Regions from separate parts of the Homo sapiens genome. Here all the other regions are linked to region 1. The links are contacts of gene promoters, found by promoter capture Hi-C in human tissues and cell types (Jung and others, 2019). All regions are on one chromosome and are shown on one strand. Each heading gives the region's core, a stretch centred on a gene start or on the middle of the fragment in contact. The rest is flanking DNA. Distances are from core to core; before and after follow the strand shown. Region 1 holds the start of AGPAT3 (1-acylglycerol-3-phosphate O-acyltransferase 3). Region 2 holds the start of RRP1 (ribosomal RNA processing 1). Region 3 has its middle 6.0 kb from the start of CSTB.

Region 1 (3,635 bases), core at 129-2,628:
GGATTGGTTGGAAAGAGGGAGGGGGGGCGGCAAAGAAGTGGCCAAATCAAGAGAGTGCTCAGCATCCTCGGGAGACCCCTCTGAAGCTTTCAAACTGAGAAGACGAAGTTCAGCAATTCCTAAGCGAGTCGAGTCGGAGCAGCCGCGCCTGCAATTTAAAAGCTGCAGGATCCTGGGTCCCTCTAGCAGCCTGGGCCCGCCGCCCGCCCCACCTCCCAGCCCCCAGCAGGCTCTCGGCGTTGGCTTTCATTTTTAATAAGAGCCGCATGCTCATCACCCTCTGTCTGGAGGCCAACAGCCCACATCTTTCTTCTACTAAGATCATGTTTCCCAGGAAAAAGAACCCAACTGCTCAAGTATTCTCCTAGACAAAGCTTTTAAAATTGTGCTTTTTTTTTTTTAAAGGTCTGGGAAGCCATTTATAAAAGCATTTTCCCCATGTCACTAAACTTCTCTCAAAGTTAAAAAAAAAAAAAAAAACACTGCACCATTTTTAACTGCCTTCAAATACTAATAACCCTCCTTTCCTAAGTACTTGGGACCAATGTTCCAAGGGTCCTGGGGTGGCCAGGAGTGGGTTTTCGCCCCCACGGCTCTTGCCCCCGGACTGACCCCATCCCCTGACCCGCCCGGTGCAAACGCGCCGCCGGTCTCCGGGCCGAACCCACAGCCAACCCCGGGCCCCGCAGCCCTCCCCGCGCGGAGCGGCAAAAGTGAAACTGCTCCCTTGGCCTGGGCGCGCGAGGAGGAGGCCCCTGGGGGGGGTCCCGGGTCCGCCGCGCCCCGAAACCAGGCGGCGGGCGCGTCCTGTCCACGGGGGAGCCGAGCGGGGCCCGGAGCAGAGTCCAGGACGGAGGGATGGGACGTCCCCGCGGGAACCCACTCGCCCTCCCTCGGCCCGGCCCGGGCCCCTCCCGGGCGCCCCGAACCCCCGGGCCTCCCCGCTGGGCCCAGCGCCACCGAGGCTGCTGCGGGAAGCGGCCGGGGCCTCGCGCTGGACCAGGCCGCCGGGGAGGCCGGGGTTGCGGGGGGCGCACAGGACCCGGGCCCAGACCTCCTCCCGGCCCCGCGCCTTCCCAGGCCCCGCGCCCCGCGGAGCGCGGCCGGCCCATTGCGGCGCGGGGCCCCGGGCGGCCCGAGGTCGGACGGCTGGGGCAGGGGCGACCTCCGGCGGCGGGAGGGCGACCTCGGGCGGCGGCGGGGCGTGGGGGAAGAGGGGGGCGGCCCGACCTCGGGTGGGGGCCTCGGTGCTCACCTGCAGCCGCCGCCACCTGCTCGTCGCGCGGGCGTCCCCGGCGTCGCCTCCGCGGCCCCGCTCTGGCCGCCGCGCTCCTCGGCCCTGGGCCCGGCCCGGCCCTGCGTCGGGGCCTCAGCGAGTGCGGCGCCCGCCGCCCCCGGCCCCCATCCCGCCGCCCTCCGCCCTCCGCCCTCGGCCGCGCCGCCGCCGCCACTTCCTGTGCGCGGCGATCCCACAGTTCCGCCGGCGCGCGCGGGGCGGCCGAGGGACACGCTGGGGGGACACGGGGGAAGGACGCGGGGGGGGACGCGGGGGGACGGCGCGGGGGGGGACGCGGAGGGGACACGGGGGCGACACGGCGGGACACGCGCGCGGAGAGAGGTGTGGGCCGAGGGCGCCGGCGGGGCCGGGCGCGGAGCCTGCGTGGGATCCGCTAACGGACGGGGCTGGGGCCCGGGCTGGGGGAGGGGGCGGGCCGGGACCGCGGGGGGCGCGGGGATCAGGGGGGTCGGGGCTGAACGGGGGGAGGCGGCGAAGGACCAGGCTGGGGTCCCGCGAGGGCTCCCCCGGACCGGGTCGGGGGCAGAGGGGGCCGGGGCGCGGGGTGGGGCCGGGAGGGGCCTCCGAGCTCTGCCTGGGCCCCGCCATCTCCCCTGCCGGGGTCTCCTGCGGGCGCCGGGGAAGTTTCGCGCGCGAGCTCCTGCCCTGGTCGGCCGGGGCTTAGGGTCGCCGTCAGGGGTCGCCGCGCGGCGGGCTCGGTGGGGACGGCCCTGCGCGCAGCGGCTCCGCGGAAGGATCGCGTTTCGGCCCACGTGCCGCGCCCTTGGACTTATTCATAGTTGGCACCCGGCTGGCAACACTGTATCGACACTTGACCGTGGCGGGGGTGGGGGTCGCCCCGGGGCTGCCCTGCGAACCCCCGCGGGCGCTGACGCCGTCCCCTCCAGACCGCGGAGCCCTCTCAGCCCCAGGACAGCGGCTGCCGTCCCCCCTCCCTTGCACCTGGCCAGCGGCCGATCCCAGAACCTGCGGAGGCCGCGCAGGTGCCGCTGTCAGGGCAGGGCCCGCTGCGGGCTCCGCCTCCTGCGCCCGGTACCTTGTGTGACCTGGCGCCTGCTCAGGTCCTCAGGCCCCGGCTGGACTTGCTGAGCTTGGGTGGGCTTCATTTGAAAACCATTTAAAATACCAAGTACTGGTACTGTCTACTGTGCCCCTTTTTTTCCTTTTTTTTTTTTTTATTTTTATTATTATTGAGACAGGGTCTTGCTCTGTCGCCCACCCTGGAGTGCAGTGGTACAATCATAGCTCGCTGAAGCCTTGAACTCCAGGGCTCAAGTGATCCTCCCACCTCAGCCTCCCAAGTAGCTGGGACCACAGGCACACACCACCATGTCTGGCTAATTTAAAAAAAATTTTTTTTGTAGAAATGGGGCCTCACGGTGTTGCCCAGGCTGATCTCGAACTCCTGAGCTCAAGTATTCTCCCACCTCCTCCTCTCAAAGTGCTGGGATTACAAGTATGAGCCCCCGCACCCAGCTTGCACCTCCCTTTAAGCCTCCTCAAATTATTTCAGAAAATACTTAGACTAAAATAAAATGAAAGTACCGTGCACCTGTCCTACTCACAGTTCCCTTATTCTTGAAAAAGGAGTTAAGATTTGCAAAGCTCGTGGAATTCACCATTTGTAAAACCTCTCACCCCTCATGTCATTTTGGGTAATCTGTGCCACAGATAAATTCTCACAGGCACCACGGGATGTGTGGATACAGGGATGTGCTGACTTACAGCTATACCTATAATCACAGGAAGCCTGAGAACAACCAGACACTTGGTTAAATAAACTCTAGAACATTCATTTAGCATTTTTAATTTAAAACATTTTCTAAAGTTGTGATGTGATAATTCTGTGTACACAGATAGGATATAGTCTCCAAGATCTGTTAAATTAAAAAATAAAAATAGTGCAGAGCAGTGAATATACAATGATGTGCTTTATTTAAAACAAACAAACAAACAAAAAATGGCCAGGCACGGTGGCTCACACCTGTCTGTAATCCCAGCACTTTGGGAGGCTGAGGCTGGTGGATCACGAGGTCAGGAGTTCAAGACTAGACTGGCCAAGATGGTGAAACCCCGTATCTACTAAAAATACAAAAAAAAAATTAGCCTGGCGTGGTGCAGGCGCCTGTAATCCCAGCTACTCGGGAGGCTAAGGCAGAGAACTGCTTGAACCTGGGAGGCAGAGGTTGCAGTGAGTCAAGATTGTGCCACTGCACTCCAGCCTAGGTGACACAGTGAGACTCTATCTCAAAAAAAAAAAAAAAAAAAAAGACCAGATGCAGTGGCTCACACCTGTAATCCCAGCACTTTGGGAGGCCAAGGCGGGTGGATCACTTGA
Region 2 (3,609 bases), core at 696-3,195, 76 kb after region 1:
TTAAAAAAAAAAGAAAAACTGGGTTGACCAGATGCCCATCCATCCTCCCCCGCTGCTTCTGTACCTGCTCTGCTGCTCCCCCCACTCACCTGGAGGAGTGGCTTGTCCTGCATCCACATGCAATAAAACAGTCCTTTCCACACCTTCAGCAGCTCGTCGTGCGTAAAACCACCTGCATCAAAACAGCAACGGTTGGACCAAATGAATCCCACACCTTCGAGTGCCAGAAAGGAAGCCACAGAAACGTGACTGCCTGAATGAGACCAAAGTCCCACTTACGGTAAAGGCAACTGGGGGGCAGAATCTGGCCCTCCCCTTCAAACAATCCTTCTAACCCAGAACCTGCCGCGCCTGTGGCTATGCGGCTACTCCAGGTAACTGCTACTTCACGCACACAGTAAAACCGACTGAGATCTACAAGGTATCAGGCACCATACTCCATTTTGGAAATTCAAAATTGCGAACCTTGACGGTTTCCTAAGCTGGACAGTGGCCACAAGGTTAATCTGTTGGTGATAATTCATCCAGCATTATACTGAGGGCTTCTGCACTCTCCTGTAATATATCTCAAATACTAAAAGAAGAAAGTGAACTCAGGCATTCAGACTACGAGAGAAACAGAAATTACTGAGGCCAGGTGCGGTGGCTCACGCCTGTACTCCCAGCACTTTGGAATTGAGTGCTGAGGCAGGATCACTTGAGGCCAGGAGTTCAAGACCAGTCTGGGCAACATAGGAAGACCCCAATTTGTACAAAAAATACAAAACTTAGCTGGCCTGGCCGCACGGTGCCAGTAGTCCCAGCTATTGGGGAGGCTGAGATGGGAGGCTCACTTGAGCCTGGGAGGTAGAGGCTGCAGTGAGCTGTAATCGTGCCAATGCACTCCTCCACCACGGATGACAGTGAGGTCTGTCTCACTCAGAAAAATAACAAAAAATTTTAATTTAAAACATTACTCAGTTGACATTCACTGAAGTCCTATGTGTCTGGCAACCTGTTCCTGCAGCAGTGGTTCTCAGGCTGAGTGTGGGGAGCAGAAGCACTTGAACAGCTTCATAAAGCAGATGCCAGTCCTGATTTAGTAGGGCTGGGATCCTAGAACTTGCATTTCTTTCTTTTCTTTTGCGATGGAAATGGAGTCTTGCTATGTTGCCCAGGCTGGACTCCTGGGCCTTTGTGATCCTCCCACATCGACGTGCCAAGTAGCTGGGATTACAGGCTTGGGCCACTGCGCCCGGCATAGAACGTGTATTTCTAACAAATGTCCAGGGGATGCTACTGCTGATGGGGGACCACGCTCGGAGAACCACCTGGTACCATGAACAAGAAGTAGATTCTCGGCCCTCAGAGAGGTACTCTCGAGTGGAAATCGGAAAACAATCCAATAATTAACGCAAAACAGAAAACTGCAAACAGTGGGAAATGCTGCCATGAGGGAAAAATACTGGGTGCCCAAACAGCAGGGCAGCAGGAGTACATGGTCTACTGGAGGGAGGGGACGCCTGAGCTAGGAAAGGGGTTACGGGGCTGGGGAGGAGCGTTCTCGCAGAGGGACCAGAGTCACCGCACCACGAGGGAAAGCGGCGGCGGGGGCCGTGGGCCGGTAACAGCGGGAACAGGCCAGTGGACCCCGCCTGCCCGGCCCGGCCACGTGGAGGTTCCACAGGGCTCGGAGGGCCCCCAGCTCCGGCCGCCGCCGCCCACACCCGCACCAGCCCAGCCGGCCCCCGAGACGCCAGCCGCCCACACCCCCGCCAACCTGCGGCCCGCTGAGTCCTGGCGACGATGTATTTCCGGAGCTTCCTCACCGCCCGGTCCCGGGTCACCTGCTCATTCCCCGCCAGGCGCTGAGCCAGCTGGATCTCAGGCGGGAGCTGCACGCGCGAAACCATGACGCCGACGGCCGAGACCCCCTGTCCCGGAGTCGCCTGGTACCCAGCACACTGAGCACGCGCCTCCTGCGCCCGCCTCCTCCTGGCCCCGGCGCGTGGCGTGACGTCACAGCCCGCGACACCGCCCAGGCGCACGCCACCGCCGCGCAGTGGCCGAGCCGCGCAACTGCAGCCCCCGGAGGCCGAAGGCTACAGAGGGGGCGCGCGCTCCCTGCCTGTGCGCATGGGCGGAACCAGCGAGCGCGCGCCTGCGCCTGCGCCTGCGCCTCGCTGGGGCTGCGGTGGGTCGGGATTCTGAGGCAAAGATCTGTTGTTTTTTAATCTCATTTTATTTATAACCCCACTTGTATTTTTTTCCTGAGACAGGGTCTCGCTCTGTTACCCACGCTGGAGTGCAAGGCGCGATCTCGGCTCACTGCAGCCTTTGCCTCGCGGGCTCCAGGGATCCCCCAGCCTCAGCCTCCCGAGGAGCTGGGACCACGGGCGCCACCACTCTCGGCTCGAAACTTTATTTTTAAAACCAGGGGTGTGCCGGGCGCGGTGGCTCACGCCTGTAATTCCAGCACTTTGGGAGGCTGAGGCGGGTGGATCACGAGGTCAGGAGTTTGAGACCAGCCTGACCAACATGGTGAAACCCTGTCTCTACTAAAAATACAAAAATTAGCCAGGCGTAGTGGCGGGCGCTTGTAATCCCAGCTACTCAGGAGGCTGAGGCAGGAGAATTGCTTGAATCCGGGAGGCGGAGGTTGCAGTGAGTCGAGATTGCGCCGCTGCACTCCAGCCTGGGCGACAGAGTGAGACTCTGTCTCAAAAAACAACAACAAAAAAAAAAACGGGGAGGCTGCATTTGGCCTAGGGCCACAGTTTGACATACCCTGAAGTAGAAAAATATTCTTTATTTTTAGAAATAACTGCAGAACTCTTTGGTAAAGGTGACCTGTCATGATGTCTGTAATTCATTCTGCAAAAAAGTAAATCATTACACGCACATATGTGTATGCAGATAAGCAACTATGGCACACTGTTAACAGTTGTGGCGTTGGCCGGGCGCGGTGGCTCACGCCTGTAATCCCAGCACTTTGGGAGGCCGAGGCGGGCGGATCATGAGGTCAGGAGATCGAGACCATCCTGGCTAACACGGTGAAACCCCGTCTCTACTAAAAACACAAAAAATTAGCTGAGCGTGGTGGCGGGCGCCTGTAGTCCCAGCTACTCAGGAGGCTGAGGCAGGAGAATGGCGTGAACCCCGGAGGCGGAGCTTGCAGTGAGCCGAGATCGCGCCACTGCACCCCAGCCTGGGTGACAGAGTGAGACTCCGTCTCAAAAAAATACAAGTGTGGCGTCTACAGGCAGGAATACAGGTCTTCATTGACCTATCTTCTGACATTTTCTATGTATGAAATTTTTCATAAAAAGTTGAAAAGGCTGGCAGTGGTGGCTCATGCCTGTAATCCCAACCATCACTTGGGGAGGCCAAAGCAGGTGGATCACCCGAGGTCAGGAGTTCGAGACCATCCTGGCCAACATGGTGAAACCCCATCTCTACTAAAAATACAAAAATTAGCTGGGTGTGGTGGCGAGCACCTGTAATCCCAGCTACTCGGGAGGCTGAGGCAAGAGAATTGCTTGAACACAGGAGGCGGAGGTTGCAGTGAGCCAAGATCCGGCCACTGCACTCCAGCCTGGGCGACAGATTTTGAAACTCTGTCTAAAAAGA
Region 3 (3,847 bases), core at 482-2,981, 95 kb after region 1:
CAGAGTAAGACTCCGTTTCTCTCTCTCTCTCTATATATATATATAATTTATATGAAGTTGTCAATTTCATCCACACGCTGTCTGCTTCCTTAGGAGCATCAACAGCAGCAGCTTGGAAATCTGATGAATTTCACTACCCGCTGACAAAAGTCCCTTGTTACCGAACCCCCCGCTGGTTTAACCGAACCCCCCGCTGGTTTAACCCTGCCCTCTGAGAGTGCATTAGGAGCTCTGATATGGTGTGGCTGTGTCTCCACCCAAATTTCATCTTGAATTATAGCTCCCATAATCCCGTGTCATGGGAGGGACCTGGTGGGAGGTCATTGAATCATGGAGGTGGTTACCCTCATGCTGTTCTCGTGATAGTGAGTGAATCCTCATGAGATCTGATGGTTTCATAAGGGGCTTTCCCCGCTTTTGCTGGCACGTCTCCTTCCTGCCACCATGTGAAGAAGGATGTGTTTCCTTCCCCTTCTGCCATGATTGTGTTTCCTGAGGCCTCCCTAGCCATGCTGAACTGTGAGTCAATTAAACCTCTTTCCTTTATAAATTATCCAGTCATGGATATGTCTTTATTAGCAGCATGAGAATGGACTAATACAGGAGCTCAAAGTGGATGAGGCACGTAGTAGGGGAAGAATGAAGTCAGCTCGGACTCCCGTGGGGCTCACAGCATGGGGGCGGTGACTGTCACTGTCACGGATGTGAAATTGTACCAAGTGCCCTAAGGGAGGGTCCTGCTGGGGGTAAACGGGGATCTGACAGAGGTGCAGAAGGCTTCTGGGCAGAGGCCATGGCCAAGTTCAGACCTGAGGCTTGAGGAGGAGGAGCTAGAGGCTGAGGTGGGTGAGACCGTCCTGGCGCCAGCAGCAGAGAGTGGGGAGTCCAGGTTGGGCAAGAGCATGGCGCATTCTGGGAGGCGGCTGAATGCCTCATAGCCACGACGTCACGGCAGCTGCCCTGGAGGGGCCCTGAGTCCTGGGACAGAGCAGGAGCAGAGCCCCTGGTGTGCCCAGCAGTCTGGAGGGCGGGACGGGCTACCCTGAATGAATTAAGACGCTGGATCTCCAGGACACTGATGGCTTAGGTCCTTCCCCATCCTGGAACATGAACCAGAAAACAGAGGCCTACGTGCTGGGACCTGCCATGAGCCACTTCCCCTCCAGACCCCTGAGAGCCAGAAAGAAAACGTGGAGGTCTTACTCATGGTTCGTTCAGGCATGTTTCCCCAAAACTGCCTCGGCAATGTTAAAAATGGCTTGAGCTTTGGGAGGCCGAGGTGGGAGGATCACTTGAGCTCAGGAGTTTGAGACCAGCCTAGGCAACAGAGTGAGACCCCTATCTCTACAAAAAATAAAAAATTAGCCAGGTTTGGCGACACACACTTGTAGTCCCAGCTACTTGGTAGGCTGAGGTGGGAGGATCATATCATTTGAGCCGGGAGGTCGAGGCTGCAGTGAGCCATCATCACACCACTGAACTCTGGCCTGGGTGACAGAGAGAGATCCTGTCTTGAAGATAATAATAATAATAAATAAATAAATGAAAACGGCAAGGGGAGCCAGGGCAGCAGAGGCCTACAACCCCCTCCAGGGGCAGCCCCTCTCCTGCAGTCCGCCCTACAGCCTGGGCGCCTGCTCAAGTCACAGGTAGGACGGGAAGGTGGAGGGGTGGGTGCGCAAAGTCCAGAACGTGCAGGAGCCCAGGACGGCCTGGCCTGAGCTCCCCGTTTGTAACGCGGGCCCCGTCCTGAAAGGGAACACCGCTTCCACACGCTGGACACCAAACGCTGCTTGAGTTGCTCCTGTGAGTGCTGCCTGTTTCCACTGGGGCCCTGGCTGATGGAAATGCACTCAACAGATGCTAGGCAAGGAACCGCCCCACGCTGAGAGCGCAGACCCTCACTCTGAAGCTCCTGAGGCAGGCATGCTCCCTGGGCTGAGCAGGCAGCTGCGGGTCCCCAGCCAGCTGTCACTCACTCTCGAGTGACAGTGTCATCTTGGTTGGGTCTCCTACCCTCCACCCCGAATTCTCAGCGAGCATCACTTTTCCCAAAGCTGGTAGGGTTTTTTTTTGTTTTTTTGTTTGTTTGTTTTTGAGATGGAATTTCACTCTTGTCACCTGGGCTGGAGTGCAATGGTGCTATCTTGGCTCACTGCAACCTCCACCTCCCGGGTTGAAGTGATTCTCCTGCCTCAGCCTCCTGAGTAGCTGGGATTACAGGTGCCTGCCACCATGCCTGGCTAATTTTTGTATTTTTAGTAGAGACCGGGTTTCACCATGTTGGCCAGGCCAGTCTCGAACTCCTGACCTCAGGTGATCCACCCCCTTCAGCCTCTCAAAGTGCTGGGACTATAGGCGTGAGCCCCCACTCCAGGCCTGGGTTTTGTTTTTTTGAGACAAGGGTCTCACTCTGTTGCCCAGGCTGGAGTGCAGTGGGGCCACCATAGCTCACTGCAGTCTCGACCTCCCCTAGCTCAGGTGATCCTCCTGCCTCAGCCTCCTGAGCAGCTGGAACTACAGATGCATGCCACCTTGTTCTGCTAATTATTTGTGTTTTTTGTAGCAACGGGGTTTCGCCATGTTTCCTAGGCTGGTCTTGAACTCCTGAGCTCAAGTGATCCACCCACCTCAGCCCCAAAATGTGGTAGGCTTACAGACGTGAGCCGCCGCGCCCTGTGCCTGCAGGTTTTGCTGGCCATGTGTTCCCGATCTGGCAGAACAGAGCAGCCAGGCTCTGTGTTAGCTGAGGTTCTGTCTGTGTAGACAGGGTCTGGGTGGGGGGAGCCAGGCAAAGCCAACAGTATCCTTACCAGCCCAAAGGAGCTGGGAGATGCCACCACAGCCTTACTCAGTCTCTCCTCTAACTGCTGTCAGGAAACGTGCGTTATGAAGCAGGGCCAACTGATGGAGATGAGAATAGATTCCCACTAGATTAGAGACAGAATAACATAATTGGATGCAAATTGTGCAAAAGATAAAATTGTAGGCTTGAGTAATCTAATCATTCCACTACCAGGTAGAGCGTCTAAGATTTCCTAATTGAGCTGCCCAGAAGCGGTGTTAATTCCCATTTTCTATCCCACAAAAGGCAGGGTCAGGACTCCAACATTTGGATGCTCAGAGCTCGGAGAGCTCCCCACGGCACAGCCAGGCCCTGGTTGGGCACAGTCCCTGACCATCGACTGAGCTCACACTCATTCCTTTCCAGGTCGTCTCTCCCTCCTCCCTCCTTCCCACATCTGAATGTCCTCGTGCCAGGCACCCTGCAGGTCTGCTTGCAGAGCGAGGCAGGCATGGCCGCTCTCTAAGAGGCTTACAGTGTCATAGGTGGCCAGGGATGGGCCGGGCCTTCCCTGCCCAGATCCTTCTCCCCACCTCCCTTAAGGGCGAGAAAAACTATAGAATTTCGCACAGATGGAAAAGACACACTTCCCAGGCTCCTTTGCAGCACGGGTAGCCACATAACCCGGGGATGCTAATGCAGGCCCAGATCAAGGAGCGGTGCGGAGCTGTGGTGGGGACACTGGGATCTGGGGGCAGGGAGCGCTGTGGACAACGTGGGGCAGGGAGAGCTACGTGTGCGGAGCTGCCTTTAGAGAAAGCTGACCGCAAGGCTGACTGTGGGGGTGGGGAGGGGGTGAGCCCCTGAGAGCCGGCTGGAAGGACAAGAGCGGGGCTCGGGGCTGCTCAAGAGGCTGCTGCCCGGCCTGGGAGCAATGGGAGGGGCAGTTCAGACTAAGCAGAGCTGACTCGGCCACTGTTGGCCCTTCTTCCTTCCCTATTCTCCCCCATGGCTACGCTCACCTTTGTGCTCCTTGAGAAAATCACAGGACGCAGATCCTAA

What was found. Contacts are between HindIII fragments. The study calls those that stand out against the background at their distance.
Region 2: the fragment with the promoter of RRP1 here is called in contact with the fragment with the promoter of AGPAT3 in region 1 in 6 of the 25 tissues and cell types used here (adrenal gland, dorsolateral prefrontal cortex, lymphoblastoid cells and 3 more).
Region 3: a contact is called between a fragment that was not itself captured here and the fragment with the promoter of AGPAT3 in region 1, in 3 of the 25 tissues and cell types used here (IMR-90 fibroblasts, dorsolateral prefrontal cortex and lymphoblastoid cells).

What each region holds. Positions count from the first base shown.
Region 1 is chr21:43,862,966-43,866,600 of GRCh38, reverse strand. It overlaps AGPAT3 (1-acylglycerol-3-phosphate O-acyltransferase 3), which reads right to left and starts at 1,378. Exons shown (of 10, transcript NM_020132.5): 1 at 1,256-1,378. RefSeq lists silencers at 620-939, 1,060-1,409, 1,960-2,319. The HindIII fragment of the contact is 11,781 bases long and covers 1-3,635 here.
Region 2 is chr21:43,787,913-43,791,521 of GRCh38, reverse strand. RRP1 (ribosomal RNA processing 1) reads right to left here and starts at 1,945. Exons shown (of 13, transcript NM_003683.6): 1 at 1,760-1,945; 2 at 90-172. The coding sequence starts at 1,892. RefSeq lists silencers at 1,535-1,704, 1,915-2,144 and an enhancer at 1,775-1,884. The HindIII fragment of the contact is 35,062 bases long and covers 1-3,609 here.
Region 3 is chr21:43,768,357-43,772,203 of GRCh38, reverse strand. No RefSeq gene overlaps it. Among named protein-coding and RNA genes, the nearest start is that of CSTB, 6.0 kb to the left of the region's middle. RefSeq lists enhancers at 410-1,331, 1,332-2,254, 2,997-3,610, 3,589-3,847, 3,611-3,847 and a cis regulatory region at 3,333-3,847. The HindIII fragment of the contact is 6,907 bases long and covers 1-3,847 here.